2 separate regions of the Homo sapiens genome follow, and region 2 is linked to region 1. The links are contacts of gene promoters, found by promoter capture Hi-C in blood cells and fetal thymus (Javierre and others, 2016). All regions are on one chromosome and are shown on one strand. Each heading gives the region's core, a stretch centred on a gene start or on the middle of the fragment in contact. The rest is flanking DNA. Distances are from core to core; before and after follow the strand shown. Region 1 holds the start of BHLHE23 (basic helix-loop-helix family member e23). Region 2 holds the start of NTSR1-AS1 (NTSR1 antisense RNA 1).

Region 1 (2,700 bases), core at 19-2,518:
CCTCGCCGTGGCCCTGGGACCCCGCGGTGGTCTTCTTTTGGGGACGAACGGCAGTGCCCGAAGGATGCTCTACCCACCCCCGTTCCTAGACTTGCTGGGTCCCGACAATACCCAGTGGGTGCCGCGAGTTCCCGGGCGCAGAGTCCAGCGTCCGGCTCTCGAGCTCAATCCCGCGCCCCGACGGCCTTGGCGCTTCCCGCTGCGCTAAACTGTCCACCGCGCACAGGCTGGAAGCGAAGTCGGGCCCCCTCCTCCTGGTCTGCAGGGTCCCTCCAGGCCTTTCCTGTCCGGGCAGAGAGACAGTCACAGGGGCGATCGGAGGACGCGTGCGGGAGGGCCGGGGGCCCGCGCGGTCACGGCTTCTCGTGACAGTGTTTGCAAAGCGCGGAGGGCGTCCCGGAGAAGGCGGCGCACTTGTCAGGGCAGGGCCCCAGGGCGGCGCCTGCGGAGAAGGGGCACACAGTGGCCTGGCCGAAGGGCGTCAAGGGCGCGGCGTTTACGGGCGCGGCCAGGCCCTGGCCCTGGTTGAGGAAGGCCACCAGGCGCCGCATCTCGTCCAGGGCCTGCGCCTGCATGAGGATATAGTTCTTGGCGAGCAGCAGCGTGGCGATCTTGGAGAGCTTGCGCACCGACGGGCTGTGCGCGTAGGGGATGACGGCTCGCAGCCCGTCCAGCGCGTCGTTTAGGTCGTGCATGCGCCGCCGCTCGCGCGCGTTGATGCTGAGCCGCAGAGACCGCTGCTCTCGCGGCCGCCGCCGCCCGTCCGCCGCGCTCCCTGGCCCGCGCCGCCGCCGCCGCTGCTCGAAGGCGTCGTCCTCGTCCCCGCTCTGTTCGCCGCTGCTCTCCGCCGCCTGAGCTGGGGCGCGAGGTGCAGGCGCCGCGGGGAGGTCGCCGCCCGGGCCCGGAGTGCCGTAGCCGCGGGCCGCTTCGGGTTCTCGCGCCGCCCCGTAGGCGAGACCCGCAGCCGCCGCCGCGTAGCCGTGGCTTAGTGCCAGGTACGCGTCCCCCGACAGCGACTTGAGCTCGGCCATGGCCGCGCCGCCTGGGCTCGGGGGCTCGCCGGGTGGGCGGATGCTCATGTGGGTGAGCAGCCCCCGAGGCCGGCCCGAGCCCGCCGCTGCCGCTGCCGCTGCGATGAGGCTCCCGGCTCTGCGCGTCGGTCTGGCTTGCCTGCGGGTCCCAGAGCCTCGGCGCCCGCTGCCTCCTCCGCCTCTTCCTTCTCTCCCACCTCCTCTCCCTCCCAGCCGCGACGCGCAGGGGGCGGGCTCTACCTCCCCCTCGCCCCCGCTTCGGTTTTAAGCCGCGGAGGCGCCCGGTGGGACCTCGCTGCTGTCCAATCAGGGGGGACCGGGTGAGCTCCTCTTCCTGGAGCCGGGCTCCACCAGCGCCGCAGGCTCACAGGCCGGGGGTGGGGGCTCTGGACCGAGGGGCGGCGCGGGGCGGCGCGGGGCGGCGCGCGCGGTCCTGGAGCGCTAGTACTTGCTTCTCGACTCCCCGGCCGCCGCCTCCGGCCGCCCCGGGGATTCCGCCACCAAACGCACGCGTCCCAGGTGGGCACCCGCCTCGGTCCGTCTTTGAGTCTGACCCTAGCGCAAGAGTCCCTGGCGACACGCAGGGGCCAGAGCGGGGGGGCGCGCCGCAATAGCAGCAGCGCCAGCGCCAACACCCTGTCCCGCTGAGGGGCCGCTTCGGGTCGGGGTCAGGGTCGTGGGCGCTCTGGTGCAGCCGCGGCGCAGCGTGTACCCGGAGCCCGCACACTCCCTGCTCGGGGCGCCCTGTGGCCAGGCTTGAGGGGCAGAGTGAGAGGGAGTTTCTAGAACCTGTTGAAAAACGCCACGAGCGTTGCAGGCCGGGGAGGGCGGGAAGGTGGAGGGCAGCGCGGCCTGGGGCTCCCCGGGGGTGGGAGGGGAGCTCTGTGAGCTGCAGGACCGCCTCTTCCCTGCCAGCCGCTTCCTGGGCATCTATCAGCGAAACGCGTGAGGCTTGGTGGGCTTTCCCGGAGCCTCCGAACCCCTGGGGTCCAGCCACACTGGATGGGAATGTGGCCAGCCTCGGACTCGCCTTTTCAGTCCTCTTCCAACCCCGCATGAAGGCCAGAACCCCAGCCCTTCTCCCAGGTGGGAACCTGCCTGGAGGCCCGGCCGAGTGCTGAGGCTAGAGTGTGCTGAGGGATAGTGGCTTCTCCGGTCCTGGCTTGGGTGGGAGACTGGGCCACCCTGGCCTATGGCACGAGGTGGAGCGGCCCGTCGGGCCCTTCTGTGTGACCTGGGAAGGGCCGCATACCCTCCCTGTTCTCCAGGCTCCGCCCCAGGAGGAGCCACAGCGATGGGGCAGTGTGCGCAGCCCCGGGAGGGGAGTGGGAGCTGCACGTGTGTGGGGCGGATGTGCTGTCTGGAAGGTTCTGGGAACGCAGCAGTGACCGGCCTGTCCGGTGGTTCCCTGCCAGGTGCGGGGTGTGAGGAGACAGATGCATGGATAAGTCTCCGTGGGAAACTCAGGCCTTTGTCCTGGCGGAGGGGAATGGGTCTGAGGCAGCCTCTGCCGGGCTGGCGGCCTGTCTGGCTGCGCGTCCTGCAGCACCGGCCTCACCCCCAGCACACGCCCGCCAGGAGCGCAGGGGCCCCGAGGATGGAAGCGTCTGTCTGAGGCGCTGTCCTGGGACCCCACCCCGCCTTCGGGGCTGATGCACAGACCGGGAAT
Region 2 (2,760 bases), core at 90-2,589, 270 kb before region 1:
GGAGCCTGAGGCTGGGGGAAGCCACTTGCTCAGATGCACACGGCTGGGGCCGGCGGCAGGTTTGCCCGACCTCGAGTCTGCGCTTCTCATCCTGGAAGCGACCGCCTTGTCCCCTGCGCAGCCTCCTTCTCTGGCTCAGCCACGTGGGTTACTACTGAGTTCACTCTTCAGCCCTGGTGGGGGACGGGCAAGAGATGGGGCGTGAGGGGCGGGCGGAGGCAGCGAGGTCTGGGATGAGAGCTTTTCTGGAGCCTTCTCTGGAGTGTGACCCCCTTCCCCGCAAAAAAAAAAAAAAATCTTGGCTCAGCTCTTGGGCTTCGGTGCAGTAGGGGCTTTGTGGCCGATGCAGAGGAAGCCGAGCTCTGCTCCTGGAAGGACGTGGCCCCTTGTCTTACCCAGGCTTCATTTTGGGGCCATCTTTTTAGGTGGTTGAAAATGAGTAACTCATTCTTGACCTTGTGCAATGCCCACGCCCTGTGTCCGGGGCTGACCTGGAGGCTCTGGGTTCTCTGCTGAGCAGAGCTGGGGCCAAGACCACCCCTGGGGAGCGAGGAGCAGGCGCTGGTGTGCCTGGCCCAGGTGGCTTCCCATAAAAGCTGCAGGCAGCCCTGTCTAATGTGGCAGCCCTGGGCCACACGTGGCCACTGGGCATTGAGACATGGCTGGTCTGAGTGAAGATGAGCTTCAGCCTGAAATCCGCACCGGGTTTTAGAGTTAATGCGGAAAGGCGGTATACAATAGCTCACTAATACCGTTGCAAGTTGATATGATATTTTGAATACATTAAGTTAAATAAGATATCGTATTAAAATTATCATAGCTGTTTCCTTCCACTTTTGTAACATAGCTACTGGTACATTTAAGCCTCACGTGGCCTGCATCCTATTTCCACGGGACTGTGCTGCCCGAGCCCCTCCCTGCTGATGAGAAGCAGCCCTCGGGTGGCTTTGGGGTGTGTCCAGAGCCTGTACAGCCTCCCCTTGGGGTGGGGTGCCGCGTGCGGGGTGCCAGGCACCAGCCGGTGCTGAGGCCCCATGTGGAGGCAGCCCTGCATGATGGGCAGCAACCAGTGGGGTGCCATCGTGTGCGGTGACGTGCACACTAAAGAAAGACGCTCAGCTCCCTCCTCTGCCCCGCCTGGCCGCCAGCTCAGTGCCAAAACCATGGTTAGGGGGTGGGAGGCCACGGGTGCCCTTGGGGACCTACCAGGCCTGCAGGGTCCTTGGCAGAGGGGCAGTGCCTGGCACCAGGAGGACACTGTGCTGGAAGGTCAGCCTGTTCCCACAGCCAGGGATGTGGGGCTCCCAGGTAGCCCCATTCATAGTTATTTGAATTGCTGTGATGGAGGCAGGCGGAAGAGGTGGGACTGCGAGGGAAGGCAGGGGCCCCCCGGGGAGAGAGTGGGTGCCTCCTTCCCTTTCCTCAAAGCCCAACGGCCTTGCAGTGAGACTGCCACTATACAACAAAGAGCCAGCACCGCTGTGCACGCTGGAGTCTCACAGATGAGCCGATTATGTCTTTGTGACAAACACATTATTAGGAGTGAGATGAATTCCTTCTGTGGGCGGGGATGATTCAGAGAGAGGCGTCCCAGCCCCAGGAACAGCCTCCCCGCAAGGTGGCCTCAGCCTCCCCCATGCTCCCCTGGAGGCCGCTCCCTGGCTTGGGGGGTGGGTAACACGGGAGTCCCCCCGACACGGCGAGGTGAGCTCACCTCCTGAGGCTGGCGTGCAGGGAAGTAGGAAAGGGCACACACTGCGACCGGGGACCAGGGACAGGGTCTTCCCCGCTGTGACCTGTGGGGCTGTGCAGGGGGCGGGAGCAGCCCCCATCCCAAAAGGAAATGGGACAGGAGTTGCCAAGAACAGTTCCCCTTACCCTCCAATTCCTCACGGGTTCAGCACTTTCTCTGAGGGGGTCTGGTCTGAATCCCAAATTCAGATTCTGTATTCAACTGTTCCCTTCATTACAAAGAACAAATTTCCGAGCCCAGTAATTCCCGTTTAAATTTGTCAATTTTCATCCCTCGATAGAAATCAGTATGTGGTGATCACAAAAGCCGGGGTATTAGCCCAGTGGACAGTTTGTTCTGAAACTTGTCCCTTCGGGGCAGGGCCTGGGTTAGGAGGCCTGAGATCTGCCTGGAGCCTGGGGTGCCTCGGGCAGGGGCATCGTGGCTGGGGATTCTCTGCACTTGCCCCATGGAGCAGGGCGGGAAGGGAAGCCAGGCTCCTTTCCCTGTCTGGGTCTGGGGCTGCTGCCCTTGGCAGCTGGGGAGACCCTGGGACCCCAGAGGCAGAGCCCCACTCTCTGTACCCTCAGGCGCAATGCCCTGAAAGACAGGCGCCACTTTGTCTTCAGAAAGGCAGGAACCAAACCCCTCTCACAGTTCCAGAAGCTTCCCTGAGTCCCAGTTTAGACGCAGAATCTCCTCTGTGGATCACTCCAACTGGGGAACCAGGAGAGGGGGTTTGGGAGAGGAGGGAAGTGGCTTCCACCTGTGGGTGGGGCAAAGAGAGGGCTCCCAGCTATGCAGGGCGGGCCCAAACCTCCAGCAGAGCCCCTTTCCCAGCGAGGACTCCGAGGACTCCGAGGCCCTGGCCTGTGGCTCCCAGGGAACAACCTGGACCCTCAGCATAGGACCCGCAAGCTGAGACCCTCCTCTGTTTTACTGCTTCATTTTCCATCTGTGACCAGGGCCCAGGCCACATGCACACACCTGGCGTAGGAGTTACTTCGTGATGTGTTTGGCTGTGTCCC

The links. Contacts are between HindIII fragments. The CHiCAGO score rates a contact against its expected background, and 5 or more counts as called.
Region 2: a contact is called between the fragment with the promoter of NTSR1-AS1 here and the fragment with the promoter of BHLHE23 in region 1, in 3 of 17 cell types (total CD4 T cells, erythroblasts and non-activated CD4 T cells). The highest score is 6.2, in total CD4 T cells.

Annotation. Positions count from the first base shown.
Region 1 is chr20:63,005,696-63,008,395 of GRCh38, forward strand. BHLHE23 (basic helix-loop-helix family member e23) reads right to left here and starts at 1,269. Exons shown (of 1, transcript NM_080606.4): 1 at 232-1,269. The coding sequence starts at 1,079. The coding sequence ends at 354. RefSeq lists enhancers at 988-1,693, 1,694-2,401. The HindIII fragment of the contact is 10,733 bases long and covers 1-2,700 here.
Region 2 is chr20:62,734,020-62,736,779 of GRCh38, forward strand. NTSR1-AS1 (NTSR1 antisense RNA 1) reads right to left here and starts at 1,340. Exons shown (of 2, transcript NR_199009.1): 1 at 1,207-1,340. The region is part of intron 1 of NTSR1 (neurotensin receptor 1); the gene reads left to right. RefSeq lists an enhancer at 764-1,609. The HindIII fragment of the contact is 3,056 bases long and covers 1-2,396 here.